Regions from separate parts of the Homo sapiens genome. Here region 1 is linked to region 2. The links are contacts of gene promoters, found by promoter capture Hi-C in blood cells and fetal thymus (Javierre and others, 2016). All regions are on one chromosome and are shown on one strand. The core of a region is centred on a gene start or on the middle of the fragment in contact, and the rest is flanking DNA. Distances in the headings are between cores, read along the strand shown. Region 1 overlaps IL6R (interleukin 6 receptor). Region 2 holds the start of AQP10 (aquaporin 10).

The links. The method cuts DNA at HindIII sites, captures the fragments that hold promoters and counts their contacts. A CHiCAGO score of 5 or more calls a contact.
Region 1: a contact is called between a fragment that was not itself captured here and the fragment with the promoter of AQP10 in region 2, in 2 of 17 cell types (activated CD4 T cells and non-activated CD4 T cells). The highest score is 6.2, in activated CD4 T cells.

What each region holds. Positions count from the first base shown.
Region 1 is chr1:154,440,023-154,444,502 of GRCh38, forward strand. All of the region lies in intron 6 of IL6R (interleukin 6 receptor), which reads left to right. Among named protein-coding and RNA genes, the nearest start is that of IL6R-AS1, 36 kb to the left of the region's middle. RefSeq lists a silencer at 2,514-2,613. The HindIII fragment of the contact is 152 bases long and covers 2,118-2,269 here.
Region 2 is chr1:154,318,206-154,322,992 of GRCh38, forward strand. It overlaps AQP10 (aquaporin 10), which reads left to right and starts at 2,888. Exons shown (of 6, transcript NM_080429.3): 1 at 2,888-3,055; 2 at 3,728-3,854; 3 at 4,777-4,787. The coding sequence starts at 2,951. RefSeq lists a silencer at 2,667-2,858. The HindIII fragment of the contact is 12,155 bases long and covers 1-4,787 here.

The DNA of each region.
Region 1 (4,480 bases), core at 944-3,443, 120 kb after region 2:
CTCCTGAGTAGCTGAGATTACAGGCGCCTGCCACCATGCCTGGCTAATTTTTGTATTTTTTGTAGAGACAAGGTTTCACCATGTTGCCCAGGCTGCACTCTAGGTACTTCAAATAAGTGGAATCAGAGAGTATTTGTCCTTTGGTGACTGACTTATTTCACTTAGCATAATGTCCTCAAGGTTTATTCATGTGGTATAACATGTGTCAGACTTTCCTCCCTTTTTAAGGCTGAATAATATTCCATTGTGTAGAGATACCACATTGTGTTGATTCATTCATTTGTCAGGGGACACTGGGTTTGCTTCCCCATTTTGGTTGTGCATAATGCTGCTATGAACACGGGTGTAAAATATCTGTTTAGATTCCTGCTTTCAGTTCTTTTGTGTATATACTCAGAATTATAATTGTGGCATTATATGGTAATTCTATTTTTAAATTTTCATGGAAATGCCATGCCGTTTTCCACAGTGGCTGCACCATTTTACACTTACACCAGAGTGTATAAGGGTTCCAGTTTCTCCACATCCTTGCCAACATTTGTTATTTTTCATTTTGCTGCAATAGTCCTCCTTATGGATGTGAAGTGTTATCTCACTGTGGTTTTGATTTGCATTTCCCTAATGATTAATGTCTTTTTTTTTTTTTTTTTGAGACAGAGTCTCACCCTGTCACCCAGTCTGGAGTGCAGTGGGGCGATCTTGGCTCACTGTAACCTCCACCTCCTGGGGTTCAAGTGATTCTCGTGCCTCAGCCTCCCGAGTAGTTGAGATTGGCATGCACCACCACACCCAGCTAATTTTTGTATTTTTAGCAGAGACGGGGCTTTGCCATGTTGGCGAGGCTGCTCTTGAACTCCTGACCTCAAGTGATCTGCCCATCTATGCCTCCCAAAGTACTGGGATTACAGGCGTGAGCCACCACACCCAGGCTGAGGATCTTTTCATGTGCTTCTTGGCCATTCATATATCTTTGGAGAAATATCTATTCAAATAGAAAGTTCTTTCTTATGTGAACCTAACTCTGGCCTCACTGGCCCTTGCTCTGTTCTCAGGGATAACCAATGACAAATTTCCTAGTCTGCTCTCTCTGAATTCTTTTGGAGTTCCCAGACCTGCATCTGCTTGGGCTCCTCTTCCCAGGCTGTTACATGAGATGGTCTGTGAATTCTTCACCTTTCTGGCCCCCTTCCCCTGAATCTGGTCTCATTTGTGGATGTCCCTCTTTAAGTTGCTGACACTCTCCTTCTATTGGAAGATGGTGTGGTGGGGGCTGTCTGGCCAGCACTGGGTACGGTCTCCACTTTCCAGCCTCAGGTGGATGTGCTTCTTTGGCATAGACACAGCTTCTGTGGGAGCTCAGATAGAACAGTCGGTTTCTTCTCATGTAAGGAGCGGAAGACTTTGAGCCCTCCACCCTATGCATGTGTGGTTTGAGGCAGGGGAAGTCTTCAAAACCCAGTTGTGAATATATCCAAGAAAGAAACCTGCTGCTCCCCTCTCTGCTGAGGGAAGAGCAAGAGGAACTTGGATGATTTTGACGCAAGAGGGGGATTCAGGTTGGAAATTGGCGGGCAGTTCTGAAAAATAAGGGGAAGGTTAGAGCACTAGGTGAGGTGTGTGTTATGGACCACGGTTATTTGGCTGTTAGGGACGCATCAGTGTACTAAACACTGTATCACCGTGTGGGGTGAGCTTACCCACCCCAAGGACCTTCAGCTCTCAAGGCCCAGACAGACAGGATGCACCTGCCTCCCAGACTAGGTGTGGGAGTGGTGGCCTTTGGGAGACACAGAGGTCCTGGGAAGCACCTGGGAGTCAGGTTGTATGACACTGGTAAAGTTAGTTCAGCTCTCAGAGCCTCAGTCTTGTCATCGGTAAAGTAGAGATGATAGCACCAATCTTGTTCCTTTCAGAGAGTTTTTGTGAGTCTGATGAAAAAATATTCTTTAGAAATGCTAAAGCATACTGCATTTGTAAGGGGATCAGCAATTACAGGACAGTGCTGGTTCTTGGGAGGAGAGTGGGACCAGGGGCATCCCAGAATCACTATCCTGGATGCCATCGTGAACTCACTGCATTGGAATCTGGAGGAGGAAGTAGAGTGGGTGGTTTGAGAAAGCTTTCCTGGTGGTTTTAGTATGTGCTTGAGGGGGCTGGAGGAGGGTGCGTGCCCCACTGTAGTATGTCTAATACGTAATAGATGGTGTTCACAGCACGATAAGGCCGTAAGCAGACTGTTCTGTTGGGGCAGTTTAGAGATAGCAGGAAAAGCTTCATGGAGGAGGTGACAATTGAATTATGTCTTGAAGGATGTGTAGGAGGGTCCCAGACAGAAAATGGGGATTGTAGGCAGAGTACAAAGGCACGGAGCTGTGAGCAAGGGGAGGGTGGCAGAGAGCTGCTTGGTGAGGCCGACACGTGTGTGGGTGGGTGGTCTGAGTGGGACAGGTGGAGGCCGGCCTTGGTGGGCCCCTGTAGGAGTGGAAGTGGAATGCCATAGAGTGGGGCTCTGGAGCCTGGACTTCAGCAGGTGCTGCCCCCTTGAGGCTGGGGCCTGGCCCCCCGCACAGACTGTAGCCCAGGATAGCCTTTTGTATGAAGTTGGGGGTCCCAGGGTCACTCTGTCTTAGCCCTGCTTTGGCCAGCAAGGCCAGCACGGTCGGCAGCTTTCTCTCAAGCGGGAGTTCTGAATTTATCCTCTCCTGATGGGAGTTCTCCCTGTCACATCAACATTGAGTCTGGGGGAATCACAAAATCATTTTCTTCTTTTTTTTTTTTTTCAGAGATGGTATCTCATTCTGTTGCCCAAGCCGGAGTGCAGTGGCATAATCATAGCTCACTCCAGCCTTGAACTCCTGCCTCAGCCTCTGAGTAGCTAGGACTATAGGCATGCATCACGATGCCCAGCTAATTTTTTAAAAAATATTTTACAGAGATGAGGTCACCCTATGTTGCACAGGCCTTGAGTGATCCTCCTGCCTCAGCCTCCCAAAGCTCTGGGATTTATAGCCATGAGCCACTGTGCCAGGCTGGAGCCCCTTTTCAAAGAGGGCGTGGGGCAAAATGCCTGGGAAAAGCCCATTAGGTATAAGGGGGTTATTCCTTGCTTCTCACAAATAATCCCTTTAACTCCCTCTCCTATTCCCCAAGAATGGGAATCACACCTGTTGGAGGAGGTGATACCAAAGGTTTGCATTTGCACATGAGGGGGTGCCCTGAAGCCAGGACTGGGCGGTCAGTGCCTCCAGCTACACGTTATCTTCTCAAACTCTTTGGCCATCCATTCTGGAGGAGTTTGTTTTGTTCCTCTCTGCAGCACTCCCAAGTGGGACATTCTGGGGTTAAAGAGCCTTGGTTACACATTTCCGGAGAGATTTTGCCCTGTTCACTTATCCATATGGCATCCCTGAATTCCCTCTCTGCCCTGTTTTCTGCAGCTTTCTGGAACATTCCACTGGGGCCCCGCCCACTTCCACTGCATCACCTGCCACTTTGTGCAGAGCACTGGCTCTGGAGTCAGGCAGCATTGGGTCTAGTTGCTGCCCTTGCCCTTGACTAGCACGACCCTGGGGAAGTACCTCACTGAGACTCAGTTTGCTTATTTGTCAAATGGGAATAATAATGCCTGCCTCAAAAAACCCAAACCCCAGCCTTGCTGGGTTGTGAGGCTTCAGTGAGGTGAGAAGCAATTAGCACAGAGCCTGGCACATGACAAGGGTGCAATAAATGCCAGCATGACTGCCTTTCACCCGTATCTCCTGCCAAGCCTGTCTCTCGAGCTTTGGATTCATGTCTTCAACTTGGCCCAGACTTCTGGCCAGATCCTCCCTCCTGTGCCAGGTGCTCCGCATGACCCAAACCAAACATATCACACCCCTCACAGATCTCCCTGCCCTGCTTGTCCAGGGGACACCCCACCCACCCAGCTACCCAGCCAGGAGCTTGCACATCGCACCAAATGTCTCTGCCTTGGTTTGGGTTCTTGCCACATCTCAATAGCATCTAGCAGTCAGCCATTCTGTTGCACTCCACTCTTCGTGCCCCTCTCCACGACCCTCCTCCCTCATCCTCGCATTGCCTATCCGCCTGACATCCTTGTGCACAACTGGGTGATTCCTAAACGTTGGGATTTCACGGGTCTGTAAAATTTCAAAAACAATTCTGGGGACCAATTAAAGTTGCTAGCTTTTTTTTTTTTTTTTTGAAACGGAGTTTCGCTCTTGTTGCCTAGGCTGGAGTGCAATGGCGTGATCTCAGCTCACCGCAACCTCCACCTCCTGAGTTCAAGCAATTCCCCTGCATCAGCCTCCTGAGTAGCTGGGATTACAGGCATGCGCCATCATGCCCGGCTAATTTTGTATTTTTAGTAGAGACGGGGTTTCTCCATGTTGGTCAGGCTGGTCTTAACTCTTGACCTCAGGTGATCCACCCACCTCGGCCTCCCAAAGTGCTGGGATTACAGGCATGAGCCACCGTGCCC
Region 2 (4,787 bases), core at 1,638-4,137:
CTCAGGTGATCCGCCTGCCTCAGCCTCCCAAAGTGTTGGGATTACAGGCATGAGCCATCCCGCCTGGCCCATACCAACACTTTCCAACTGAGCTCCTCTCTACCACGAATATGAGAGATTCTAAGAGTTAGGCAAAAATATCATCGCCCCTATTCATCCTGAAGAACTTACAGAAGATGGACCTTCGTCCCTCTGCAACCCTTAGGATTAGTGCTTCTCTTATAAAAGGAAGGGGGGAAATGTCAGAGGCACGTGAACCAGAGCAAGTCTATTTTGAACAAGAGCTGAGTAAAATGAGAATGAGACTTACTGGGCTGCATTCCCAGATGGTTAAAGCATTCTAAGTTACAGAATGAGATAGGAGGTTGCCATAAGATACAGGTCATGGCCGGGCATGGTGGCTCATGCCATGACAGTTTATAAATGCCATGACAATGACAGGAAGTTACCCTATATGGTCTAAAAAGGGGAGGCATGAATAATCCACCTCTTGTTTAGCATATCATCAAGAAACAACCATAAACATGGGCAACCAGCAGCCCTCGGGGCTGCTCTGTCTATGGAGTAGCCATTGTTTTATTCCTTTACTTTCCTAATAAACTTGCTTTCACTTTACTCTATGGACTCGCCCTGAATTCTTTTTTTCTTTTTTTTGAGGCGGAGTCTCGTTCTGTCACCCAGGCTGGAGTGCAGTGGTGCGATCTCGGCTCACTGCAACCTCCACCTCCCGGGTTCATGCCATTCTCCTGCCTCAGCCTCCCAAGTAGCTGGGACTACAGGCGCCCACCACCATGCCCGGCTAATTTTTTTGTATTTTTAATGGAGACGGGGTTTCACCATGTTAGCCAGGATGGTCTCAATCTCCTGACTTTGTGATCCCGCCTTGGCCTCCCAAAGTGCTAGGATTACAGGCATGAGCCGCCGCACTCAGCCTGAATTATTTCTAGTGTGAGATCCAAGAACCCTCTCTTGGGATCTGGATTCAGACCCCTTTCCTGTAACAAGATTAGGCACCAGGAGAAACTGACACACATGGATGATATAACAGATGCCTAAATGGATCCTATGGGGGAACTGGAGCTGGAACAGCCCTTTAGAGTTGTCGCAAAGTGAGGCAAAGAGGCTAGACTTTTATATCCCTCCATCAATCAGTGTTTGACATGGGCCCCATAGGAGGGCATGTAACCTTCGGTGAGGCATCTTTCTGACTTGAAGGGCATTGCCCAATGAGGGAGGTAGCTATGTGGTATCAGCAGCTGGTATTTCCTACATGTAGCGAATGGGCATATTGGCTCCCAAGGGGGAATCTGGGTGGAGCACTATAGTATCCATTAAACCTAGTAAAGAAATATTATTTCTTTACTAGTCACACAGATGTGCCCAGGACAGTGGTAGAGCCCACAGGGTTACATAAATCATAATGGTAGCCCTCAAGAACTTCATAAACTGTATATGGTATTTTAAAAAGTTGCATATTGTCTGTTTCCACCTACTAGAACATAAGCTCTAGGAGGGCAGAGACTATGTTTTGTTCACCACTGTTTCTCCAGTGTCTAGACGTAGATTCTTTGAATGCATTTAATTGGAGCCTTGAGATATGAAGAAGTAGGATGCGGTTACTTCATGCAGAGCAAGAGTGGCATGCACCCAGAGAAGGCCAGGTGGAGCTCAGCATGAGTGTGAAGGCCTCATGTCAAGCCATGTCAGGGGACACAAAGATGGAGTATTCTCTAACCTATGTGACACTCGGCATAAGGGAAGTACAAGCACTCAATATGTGAGTTTCATTCCCACAGTCTGTGGTCTTTAGCCCAGTCTTTCCAGATGCCTATTGAGTTCTTCAAGCATCCAAATGGTTTGGGGTAAGGCTTCAGGTTCTAAATGAGAGGCTTTGTGGGTTACCAGCTGGAGAGTCAGAAAATCTGGATTTGAATTCACTCAGCCATGAAATAATTGTGTGATCTTGGGCCGGGCACGGTGGCTCACGCTTGTAATCCCAGCACTTTGGGAGGCCAAGGAAGGTGAATCACTAGAGGTCAGGAGTTTGAGACCAGCCTGGCCAACATGGTGAAACCCCGTCTTTTTTTTTTTTTTTTTTTTTGAGACAAAGTCTCGCTCTGTTGCCAGGCTGGAGTGCAGTGGCACAATCTCGGCTCACTGCAACCTCCGCCTCCCTGGTTCAAGTGATTCCCCTGCCTCAGCCTCCCGAGTAGCTGGGACTACAGGCGTGCACCACCACGCTAATTTTTTTGTATTTTAGTAGAGATGGAGTTTCACCATGTTGGCCAGGATAGTCTTGATCTCCTGACCTCGTGATCTGCCTGCCTCGGCCTCCCGAGAAACCAAGTCTTTACTAAAAAATATCAAAATTAGCCAGGTGTGATGGACCTGTAGTCCCATCTACTTGGGAGGCTGAGGCAGGAGAATTGCTTGAACCTGGGAGGTGGAGGTTGCAGTAAGCTGAGATGGTGCCACTGCACTCCAGCCTGGGGGACAGAGCAAGACTCTCTCTCAGAAAAAAAAAAAAAAAAAGTTTGATCTTGGGGAGTTCTAAGGCCCACTAGCCTCATCTGTAGAATGGAAGCAATAGTACTACTTTGCAGAGCTGACTTCAGGACCAAGAGATCTAATGTCTATGAAGCGGGGTACTTCCTTCTATTTGTCAGGATGGGGGAGGCTAGTCCTGTGATGACTGGGAATGAAGGGTAAAAGAGACAGAGGTTGGGTAAACTCCAGGCTCTGTGTTCATAGCCTGCTCCCAGACATTCTCTTGTTATCTCTCTGTTTCCTAGCCTACACACGTGCACAGACACGTAGCTGCTGTTCAGGAACTGAGCTAATGGTTTTAAAGTCTGTTCCTTATCTTTGCTGGAGGCAGGCAGTAGCTGTGCAGTGACAGTGTGCCTATGCAGACAGAGGGAGCAGTGAATAGCAATAGGGTGTTTCCACCATGGTCTTCACTCAGGCCCCGGCTGAAATCATGGGCCACCTCCGGATACGCAGCCTCCTGGCCCGGCAGTGCCTGGCAGAGTTTCTGGGTGTGTTTGTACTCATGGTAGGTAGGATCACTGCGGGAAGGAAAGAAGGGGGTTGGGCAAAAGTTCCTGGCTCCTTCTGTTGTCCTTATCTCTTTCTCTTGGTGTCCCCCTTCCTCTCAACTCCCTATCACTTTTCGTTTTTATCCTCTCGTCTCTCCTAATCTCCTTTCCTCTCCTACTTCATCATTTTTATTCTTGTCATTTTTATTCTTTCTTTAATAACAAGTGTATCATAGTTCTTGAAACATAATTTTTCTCTCTTCAGTTTCCCATTTTTATGAAAGACCATTTTCATGGTAAGACCAATGTGCTTTATTATACTTGGCCTGATGATTGTATAAAGTGCAGCAAGAATAATTATTTTTCACATAGGCTTTTAAAATTGGCTTTGATGGAACTCTTCCATAGAAAGAATCTTAGATAAGACTTTTTAAAGCTGAGCCCTGCCATGGGTTTGTACCCTCAAATGCCTATGAGTTGGGTAAATTCTTTTCTTTTTTCCCACATTCTTTCCCTTTCTTCTTCCTCCACTTTCCCCATTTCTTTTCCCTTCCCTCCTTCTGCTTTTCTCCTTCCCTTGCTTGTCTTCTGTGCTCATTCATCTCCTTGGCTGCTCCCCTGGCCTTCCCAACCTTTCTCCCTGTTGGTCTCCTGGGCTCCCTGTTCCTCATCTCTCCTCTTCTCAGCAGCTCCTCACCCAAGGAGCTGTGGCCCAGGCTGTCACCAGTGGAGAAACCAAAGGCAACTTCTTCACCATGTTTCTGGCTGGCTCTCTGGCCGTTACGATAGCCATCTACGTGGGTGGTAACGTCTCAGGTGAGGAGGGTGGGGTCTGGTCATCAGAGCACGTGGGATGTGCATGCCAGTTTGTCTGTCTGGTGATGGTGGAAACGCAAATCCTTCTGTGACTCGTGGACATTATCCCCTTGAACAGTGTCCCAGACTGAAATAAGCCTTTGGCCCCACCAGCCCCTCCTCTTTCTGTATCTCTCCATCCTGCTTCCTCACACTAATGCTTGGCTCACCTAGACAGAAATCAATGGCAGGGCACGAAGGGCAGCTGCTATCCTCTTGTATCCCCCACCTGAAGTCCTCTGGGGGCTCATCTCCACTCAGGACCTCTCCTGTTTGTACCCCAGATACACACTGCATCGGTGTGCTTGGGTGGAGCCTTGAGACATAGTGTGTTGCTGTGGAAAAAGCAGACAGACCTAGGTTCCAACTTTGGATTCACAGTGTCTTCTTCTTTTTTTTTTTTTTTTTTCTTTTTTTTTGAGATGGAGTTTCACTCTGTTGCCCAGGCTGGAGAGCAGTGGTGTGATGTCTGTTCACTGCAACCTCTGCCCCTGGGTTCACGCGATTCTCCTGCCTCAGCATCCCGAATAGCTGATTTTACAGGCACCTGCTACCACGCCTGGCTAATATTTGTGTTTTTAGTGGAAACGGGGTTTCACCATGTTGGCCAGGCTGGTCTGGAATTCCTGACCTCAAGTGATCCACTGCCTCGGCCTCCCAAAGTGCTGGGATTACAGGCGTGAGCCACTGTGCCTGGCCCACAGTGTGACTTTGCTAAGTCACTTAACATCTGTAACATCTGGAGCCTCAATTTCCTAAGCTGTGTGATGAGAATTACACTATCTGCCTTAAGAGCTATAGGAAGGAGCAGTAGTGTTGTCTGGTGACAATGCCTGGCAGTGACACTTAATAGATGCTCTTTTTCTTTCCTTGATACTTGAAGGGGCCCACCTG